Regions from separate parts of the Homo sapiens genome. Here region 2 is linked to region 1. The links are contacts of gene promoters, found by promoter capture Hi-C in human tissues and cell types (Jung and others, 2019). All regions are on one chromosome and are shown on one strand. The core of a region is centred on a gene start or on the middle of the fragment in contact, and the rest is flanking DNA. Distances in the headings are between cores, read along the strand shown.

Region 1 (4,624 bases), core at 674-3,173:
CTTACCAATTTTTAGAATGTCACTGTAAATAATATTTGAAGGAAGCTATGGGGAGTGCATCTCTTCTTTCAATTCATTATCTGAATAAGCAAAGTATAATCTATGGAATTGCATCAAAACACTTTATAAAGTAAAATGACATTAACACCAACATTAATATAATCAATATTGAGTCAATGTCTACTAATGGAAACAAAAGATAAGAGAATGATCAAAATTGAGAGTAATTAATCAGTGAATGCTTCTTGGAAGCACTGGTTTGTTCCAGATTCAGAAGGAAGTGATGAAATTCAAGTCAACAAAGGGGTTCTCTGTAAAATGCTGTGTTGAATAAAATGTGAATGAGCTTTGGTTTTCACTCTCAAGGCATTTATGATCTAACTTAGTAGTAGTTCTGTCTAACTCTAATACAAAATAGGGTGTGTTACGACAGCATAGAAGATAGATGGATTTATTCCACATTAAAGGACTGGACACTACTTCATGGGCAAAAGGAATTTGAACTAGCCCTTGAGATGGTGAAGGAGAGTGGTTGGGAGGACAAATACGTGCTTTCCAAGCAGAAATATTAACATAAGTAAAAATATGGCAGCAAAACATTTTCTGGAATGTTCAGGAAAAAGTGTACAAGATGAATGAAAACAGCCAGAAGTGAGAATGTACAACTGTGTCTGGAAAAATAGTAACCCAATTCAGAAGGCTAGAGAGAAGGGCTCAAGTGAGGGAACGGGAGGAAAAGAGGTTTGCCAAACTTGGAGGTAAGGCTTTGAAAGGTTGTGTAATGAGCTTGACATCCACACATCCAACATTCCTAAAGAATTCCAATTATAACTGAGACAATATTATGACATTAATACCTGACCTCGACTAGTCACTCGATTGTGTTAACAAATCTTCAGTTTGCAATGAGGCCAGATTGACATAAGTCAATCATTATAAGAAAAGAAGTCACAATGATCAGGATTTTATCTTAAGGAATAAGCTTGCAGAAAATCCTTTCACTGGAGACTGAGAGGCTGTCATTCAGGACTTCCTCAGCTTTTTCCATGGAAGAGAGTACCCAACTTCCTCATTCGGAATTTATCTACATAGGTTATTAAGCTACTCAATGAAATATTTTGACCAAATGTTTATGAAAAATTTTTCTGTTTTATTTAATTATTCTGCTTTTTTATTTTAATTTCAAGATCTTTTCTATCCTGATAGAGAAGAATTTCTATCAATAGAAAGGATTTCAGGAACCTTTCTCTATCCTGATTGCCTAAAAAATACACTGGAGACAGAAAAAAAAAATCATTGTATAAAAGGTAATTAGCACGTTCTCTCCTTTTTATAACTTTATAATTGAAATCTCATTAAAAGCTTTCTAGGTCTGTATTTCCCTAAGTGACCAGGTGTCCCTAATTTGTTTTCAACCAATGTGACTAATTCCAGGCAAAGACTAGAAAAAGTCTGATACCTGTTAGAGAATAGCAAGGTTAAATAAGTGGGGTGGCTTTTTTAGGTTGCATTTAACCTCGTAAAATAAAGAAAGGAAAAAAAAAGCTTCAATGTCTTTTTACAGTCCTGCCTTTTTCTCAGTCCCGGTTGAAGATTCCATGGGAAATGAGAGCACTATTTTGTTTCTCCCTTGTATTGCAGATAGGGGGAGGAGGTGGTTATTAGAGAGAAGCTCTTCCTCTCTTGGTTTCCCCCTCTCTCCGCCTGACAGCACCGCTCTCTCGCAGGCTCGCTCCTTCTCCTAGGTGATCCATTTCTAGGCAACGTGGGGCTGGTGCTGAAGCTGCCAGGCTCGCTCCTTGCTTCCTGCATCCCGCCAGGCGAAACGCTCCAAAAGCATCCTGCAGCCTGCGGCGGCTTCCCTCCTCTGGCCCGGCCCCGCTGCTCGCGCCCGGCGCAACCCCCCCGCCACCGCGCCCCAGCAAACCGGCTCCCCGGGCCCGCCTCGCCAAGCTGCGTTCCGCGCCTCACGCAGAAAGGGAATTTTCTCTGCATTACTATCTGCATTACCTTGAAGTTCACTTTTTCTACCCCTCTTGGAGAGGGCTTTTTTCCCCCCTCCCTGGTGGAATCTGGCTGCTCCGTTTGGAATCTCCTAATCTTTCCTTTCCACTTAGATTCTGGCAGCGAAGACCAGTGATTCTCTGCGGGCTGTAGGGGCGGGGGCGGGGGTCTTTTTTGGTCCGAGAGGGTGCGGGGAAGGGGGCACATCCGGCGTGAGGGGGGTGTTGGAAGTTGCAGCGGAGCTGGGACCGGAGACCCGCGGCCCCCGCGCAGCGATGGGTCTGATCTGAGCCCCAGCCTCTCCCCCTGCCCAAGAGCAGTAGAGGCTGGATATATTTTTCAAAAGCCAAACTGCAAACAACTCTGGCGATGCCAAAATTCCCCTCCAAGTGACACGGCTTTGCGAAGGAGGTTTCCTCAGGCTGGGCTCTTTCTGTCATTCCCTTCTGCCTTTCTCGGCGACGATAAAAGGCTTTGCTCTGGCAATAGGAATTTAGAAAAAAAGAAAAAGCTGCGCTAAACTCCACCGTGACCTCAAACTCTTTGGACTGTTTGAAAAAAAAAAAATTGGAAGAAAATCCATCCTCCAAGAGAATCGGCATAGGAGGAGATGGAAGTTTTCCCCTTTCTCTTGGTTTTGTCCGTCTGGTGGTCTCGAACCTGGGACTCGGCGAATGCGGATTCGATCATTCACATCGGTAAGAAAGTGTTGGTGCAGCTCGTGGTTACTTTTACCGTTTCAGTTCTCAAATGTTTCCCCTTCGCTTTCCCCCTCTCCGGTCTCTGTGTGTCTTGTTGGAGGTGGCTTCAGTTCATTGCCCCTTCCCGCTACCCTTCCCTCACACTTGCTCAGTTTTCTGAAAGGATGTGGATGCTCGAACCTCGACTGACTTGTGCTGTTGTTTTGCAGTGATTCGTGGAATGTGGCTGGATGCGTGGGGGTCTCGAGTTGACCTGAGTGTGAGTGTGTGCTGGGAACTGCAGGGGGATTCTAAGTGTGTGGGGAAAGGGAGTTTAATTGACTCTTATCTTCCATATTTTTTTTCCCGGATGTACATTTGCTCCATTTAAAAATTTATCTTTGGGGGAGCAGAGAAGCTGTCACCTGTGAGATGAAAAGAACTGGGCTGGGGGGTAGGGGGAGCTCCCTTCGGATCGAACAGGTGGTTTTGCAACGTGAGCCGGCTGAGTTCGCCGCAGCTTAGTGCGATGGTGACGGGGGTGCCGGATGCGCCCCCAGCCACCCTCTCTTCTCACATCTTCTTGGCTTTATGATCCTTGCGTGTAGTCTTTGAGACGGTGGCAGGAGGGGCTGGCGGCAGTGTCGCCAAGGACTGATTGTCGCGTGCCTCGCCTCCTCGGACACGCTCCCGGGGCCTGGCGCGGCGGCGAAACTGACCCCGGGGCGCTTGGGAAACGCGGGGAAGCGAATGCGCGCAGGCTGCTCCCGAGGTCTGCTTAGCAGATATCCGCCTTGCCTCGCCTCGCCTCGCCTCGCAGTCAACTCCGAGTAGCCGCGCAAGGCAGACAGCGAAGGCGCCGGGACTACTGCGGGCCGCGACTCTGAGAAGGACTGCCGAGCGGGCTCCGAGATGCTGGTGGCCCCACCTATTGGCAACCAGACGGGCCGGGACTGGCCGCGGCGAGCAGGGGCGGGCGGGGGGCTGCGCGTCATTATCATGCACAGCGCTCGCAGCTTCAGGCTCCAACTCTACTCACTTGCTAATCCGTGAGAGCTGAGCGGGAGACAGGCTCTTGCAGCCTTTTCTGCGTTAATGCGACGATTTCTTTTTCGGAAATTCGCTTACCGAGCCAGCAAGGTTTCTTTGCTGGGCTGCAGAGAGGTCCCTTTGGGGGAATTTTTCTGGGCACAGGACTTTTATCTGTACGCATGGCTTGGTGTTCTGCAAATTGAGGCGACAGATGGGTCACAGCTTCTCCCCTTTCTGTACCCCTGCTTCTCCACCGCACAACACGCATACACATACACACACGCACGTACACATACTCCTGGTAGGGGAATCTGCTGCAGGTGGCGATTGTGCCCGCCCAAGCGAGGGATTTCTGTCTAGCGTGCGCGCCCACAGTGGCCAGCCCCTCCGCTCCAGGGGGCTCCCTCTCTTGGTCTCAGAGGCTGTCTTTGTAAACATGTCTGCCATTCTCTATCATTTATATCAGTAGAACTGTCTGTCTCTGTGCAAGGGGTAATGAGGTCAGGATTCAGAAAACCTAGCGTTTGTGCATTAAGTAAGTCAAGCACTAATAGCTTGCCTGCTGGATCCCGTTTTGCCTGGGGGCTAACAGTGCCTACAGATTCAGAACTTTTCAGCAAGAAATTATGGTCTCATTGAGTGGTTCAGCAATGTTCTGATAGAGTTCAGAAATGAACTATGCTCCTTTTAGAGAAATGGCATACATTTATATCTAGTTGTAAATGATTGGAGCAGGAATGCAGATATATAATCATAATACCTTTATATTCATTGTATGATTAGGGATTTCTGATGTAGGCTCCTCATCTCTCAGGAGGGAAAGCCTGTGGAAGAATGCTTTTTTTAAATCGCTTATTCTGTGGTCTGCATGATAAATACATTATTTACAAATACCTACAGCTTTTGCT
Region 2 (4,624 bases), core at 843-3,342, 58 kb after region 1:
TCTCTGCTCCAGAAACATCAGGCGCTACTGAGAGGCAGGTTAGACGGGTGTTTAGGAATTGGAAGCCTTTCTACCATCTCTGAAGTGGCACACCTGCTCTGCTTGCTTGGGAGGCCAGCATGGTCTGTCTAGTTGCCAACTCAATGAAAGGCTTTAAAAGCTTGCCAAAACATTTTTTCCTAGGCAATTTCCCTTAGGCTTCTAATTGCAAGTGAATTTTAAAATATGTGACCTATGATATTGACTATTTCTGAAAAAAAATCTTTATAGTTGGGTACCAGAGGCAGCAGTCCTGTGATTCTAAATCCCTTACTGAGCAGAGAATTCTCATCTATCTGAATTGTATTTCTTTGTAAACTACCTTTAATGGTTTGGTTTGGGCAGCCTAATCTCCCTCTGGAGATAAGAAAGAAATTCTATGAATACAGCAAGTATTTGAAGACAGGAAGGGAGAAAAGGAGAAATATTTAATTAAGCAGAGAGCTTTACCTAGTTTTCCCTTACTGTTATTTATAAGCAATACATTGGCTCTAGATTTATACCTATGCAGTTCCACAATCTTTATTCTGGCTCAAGCTTCTCTTTTTAATCTCATACTATTCCAAGACAACTTGTTGGAGGTAACTGTGCCCTACCTCTCTCTTTTCTGCATCTTTATCCTTCAGCTGGGATACACCCCCACCACTCCTTGTCCTCTTCATAAAATTGTTTTGATTCTTCTAGGATTAGCCTGTGTGCTGCTGCCTCTGCCTGTTTATGCATTCATGAGTTCGAATAAAAACACAGGCAGATAAACAAAACCAAACCATTACTGAGTGCCATATGCCAGATTCTAGACATAGAATAATAAAAAAAAATGCGGTTCTTTTCCTAAAAAAATTCATAGTCTGATGGGAACACCTGCATGCATATCAACAAATTTAAAGCAATGAGAGACAAGTGAAAGTAGAGTCACATTCCACAGCCACCCAGCATTGTTCAACGGTATCATGGAGGCTTCATAAGATTAGTGATGTTTGAATGGAGTCTTGAAAGATAAGAAGGAATATACTAGGTAGAGAGTGGAAGGGATTGGGGCAGAAGAAGCAGAGGTATGGAAGACCATATTGAGTCTAGGGAATCATCAGGTCTTTCAGAGCCCATATCTCTTAAAAAATCACATTGGCAATCCTGATTCAAAGTGATCTCCACAGGAAACTTTTGTGGGGTTTTCCCCCTTTTATATCAACTGTAAGTCTTCATTTTTATAGATAAGATATAGATATTTTTCTAGGTTAAATATTTGTGTTCTATTTTAAATTGCTTGGTGACTGATAAGTTGCTTGAGGGTAAGGACTAGGTCTCTTCTACTTTTTTATTCTTTAACACACCCATAACTGAGTTTTGTAATTATTTTTATTTATTGTTTACTCTGTACCAAGGACTCTTAAGAAATGTGGTTTTATATTTCTTTAACTCCAACTAAAACTCCATTAGGTTAGGTACTATTATTACCCTCAATCACAGTTAAATAAGGCAATGCTTAGTGAGATCAAATGACCTTTCTAGGAGGCAAATTGAATTAAAAGATCTGATATCAGAGCCATAACTTAACAAATACTTTATTTAACCTTCGCAGGTAAGTCATTCTACATGTTCCTACTAAACTCTAAATGGACAAAGCAATTCTGAAATTAAAAATAATAGTTCAATTAAATAACTCTACGTGAAGACAGTGTATCAGTATATGGAAATATTCAATGTAAATTGTATATTAGAAAAAAAATTGTGTATGTAAATTGTATATCAGAACAAAAGTTCTGGAAAGCCTTTATATAATTGAAACAGTAAAAATCTCAAGGATGATTTTCACAACCTTGTATTGCTGTATCTAGTACATATTTTTAGGATCCAGGTGTTCATACTCTGAAGGTGCCATCTGGCATGGTCATTTCTAGAAAACAGGGCTGCTGTAGCTAACTCTACCTGGACAATCTCAGAGGAAGTAGGTTGTGATGGGGGAAGGTTGGAAAGGTAGTTGCGAGGGTCAGTGGATATAAAAAAGTTTGCCCATCTGTTGTAAATTTTTTTAAGTCTCCAAATTCCTTTGTTGCCAGTGTCCTGGTTATAGTGGAAGGGCCTCAAGTACGCATGATTCTTGTAATCTGGGCTTCTGGCTTCCATAAATGCCAGAGAATTTGCAACAGTAATGTGGTATACTGAGCATCTGCCTTTTAATGCAGCTTCCTCTTTCCATTCTAGGATCATCAACTCAGTTAATTAGAGGAGTGGCAGGGGTTACAATGCTAGCAAATTCTGCAGTATTATGTTATTTGTAGAGAGTGCCCTGGAAATATAATGAGAAGAGAAAAATCCAAGTATTTCTGTTTCTCATTCAAACCCAGATGGAAAAATATGAGGTGAGACACTTAGAAAATCAGAGTAATTGAACAACATACTCAGACTGGTTTATTGGCATGAATGATGTCCCCTTCACAGTAGTTATCATAGGAGCCAAACAATACAATAATGTCACCATTGCTCATGCTGTTTGGGCTCTTGTGTTGGTGTTATCTTTGGATTCTGTGGGCTGTACTATGAATAATTCTCAACAGTAGCAAATCTTCAAACAGAAAGAGTCTGTTCTGTTTTTGCTATTAGCAGAAGTTAGAATGTGCCAAATTTGGTGAATAAAGTGGGTGATCAAAGTGGGAAGTATGATTTTTTTTGCCAAAAACAAAGTAGATTGCAAAATAATGAAACATTTTTGTCTTAATGTGGCTTAAAACAAGCTCTGTTTATTCCAAAAATTTTTCTAAAATTATTTTGAAATACTGCAGAATGTCTGTAGCATGTATTTTCCAATTATTTAATTAAATTAAATCCACAGATTCTCATAAATATATATAAATTTCAGTTTTCTTTGTAAATGTATAGTTACACCTATTATTTTACATTTTTGTTGTTGAACAGCATTACAAATATTTTAAATCTTCTCATTTAAACAATCTTAAACTAACCAAAACAAACCTATTTCAAACTAAGTTGAAATATTTTCAGAAGTTAAAAAGGATATTTTTTGAGACCTAAGAAGTTTTAAATCAAAACAAGAAAAGATTCAGAAACCAAACACATTGTACTCATTTAGGATAAAATAATTTGAGGTAATTATGAAGTGAGGAGTCAGATTCGTATTTTCTGAATTTAATTGTGTCATTGTATATATTATTTTTTACGTCGTATCACAGCCCTGTGTAGTAGATATTATTTTAACATTTGGTCGATTATCCAAGTTTACAGTCAATATTCAAAGTTTTGTCTGACTCCACAGCTTTTATCCAGCTCTAATACAAGACTTCATATATTCCCTTCTTCAGAAGAGAGAGGAGAAAAAAAACTTTGAGTGACAATTATTTTTAATTTTTACACTGTTAAGTGAATATACCTGAGAGGGCATTGCTTTCAAAATCTTACTACTCAGAGTATGGCCAGCAGACAACACTCTGTGTGGCAGCATCAGTGTCTCCTGGTAGCTGACTAGTGAAGTAGAGTATTAGATGCCACACCAGATGTACCAAATCAGAAGCTATATTTTAACAAGTCCCCCCATGTGAATTGCTTTAGAGCAGTGATCTTAAGCATATCTTTGGAAGTCTTTTAAACAATATTCTAGTGTCTTCTGCATTTTTTACAGGCTCTCAAACAGGACAAAATTTTTCAGCTATGAGGTGTGTCTAAAAGTATGAACTCATTTTGACTTCAGAACAATAAGAACTCTTGAAGGTCACCTTTAGCGTTTTAGTTAAATAACATGAAACTTACTATTAAGGAGGACATGTTTGATAAGAGAAAAAAACCACTACTGCCTAAGTAGTCATACACTCTTCAAAATTGATACACAATGACTGAAAGGATTATTAAACTATGGTCAATTACTGATGATTTATAACACACAATTTACGGTGATTCATTTTTTTTCTGGATACCTATCTTTGAATATGCTATTTTTAAAAATTATTTTGTCATTTAGACTTCTATTTTATACTGAATTGAAATAACATACTATGTTCCTAAAATATCATATGGAAAAGGGTTTAGCTTAGTGTTCATTGGTTGTGATATTTTTTAACAAAATTTTCAAAATAACACATTTTTAAAGTGAATTTTATTAATTACTGTGTCTAGAATTAAGTTTACTTTTTTTTTTTTTTTTTTCTGACAGAATCTCCCTTTATCACCCAGGCTGGAGTGCAGTGGCATGATCTCATCTCACTGCAGCCTCCACCTCCTGGGTTGAAGCAATTCTTGTGTCTCAACTCCCCAGGTAGCTAGGATTACAGGCACCCGCCACTATGCCCAGCTAAGTTTTGTATTTTTAGTAGAGATGGGGATTTCACCATGTTGCCCAGGCTGGTCTCGAACTCCTAGCCTCAAGTTATCCACCCACCTCTGCCTCCCAAAGTGCAGTATAATGTGTCTAAATATCAAATTATAAAAAAGTAAAAAGATTATCATCAAACTACATTTCTACACTCATGGTAAGATTTTTCATAATTTTTCTTATGAACATGCTTAAGCATTTTAAACACTGCTTGTAGCCTCTGCAAAAGTTAGCATGCTAAATGTATGTTTAAAAGAACTAAGA

The links. The method cuts DNA at HindIII sites, captures the fragments that hold promoters and counts their contacts. A contact is called where the count stands out against the background at its distance.
Region 2: a contact is called between a fragment that was not itself captured here and the fragment with the promoter of GRID2 in region 1, in 4 of the 25 tissues and cell types used here (dorsolateral prefrontal cortex, heart left ventricle, hippocampus and 1 more).

The regions. Positions count from the first base shown.
Region 1 is chr4:92,302,043-92,306,666 of GRCh38, forward strand. It overlaps GRID2 (glutamate ionotropic receptor delta type subunit 2), which reads left to right and starts at 1,924. Exons shown (of 16, transcript NM_001510.4): 1 at 1,924-2,702. The coding sequence starts at 2,615. RefSeq lists a silencer at 3,456-3,750. The HindIII fragment of the contact is 11,112 bases long and covers 1,173-4,624 here.
Region 2 is chr4:92,359,644-92,364,267 of GRCh38, forward strand. The region is part of intron 1 of GRID2 (glutamate ionotropic receptor delta type subunit 2); the gene reads left to right. Among named protein-coding and RNA genes, the nearest start is that of GRID2, 58 kb to the left of the region's middle. The HindIII fragment of the contact is 7,454 bases long and covers 1-4,624 here.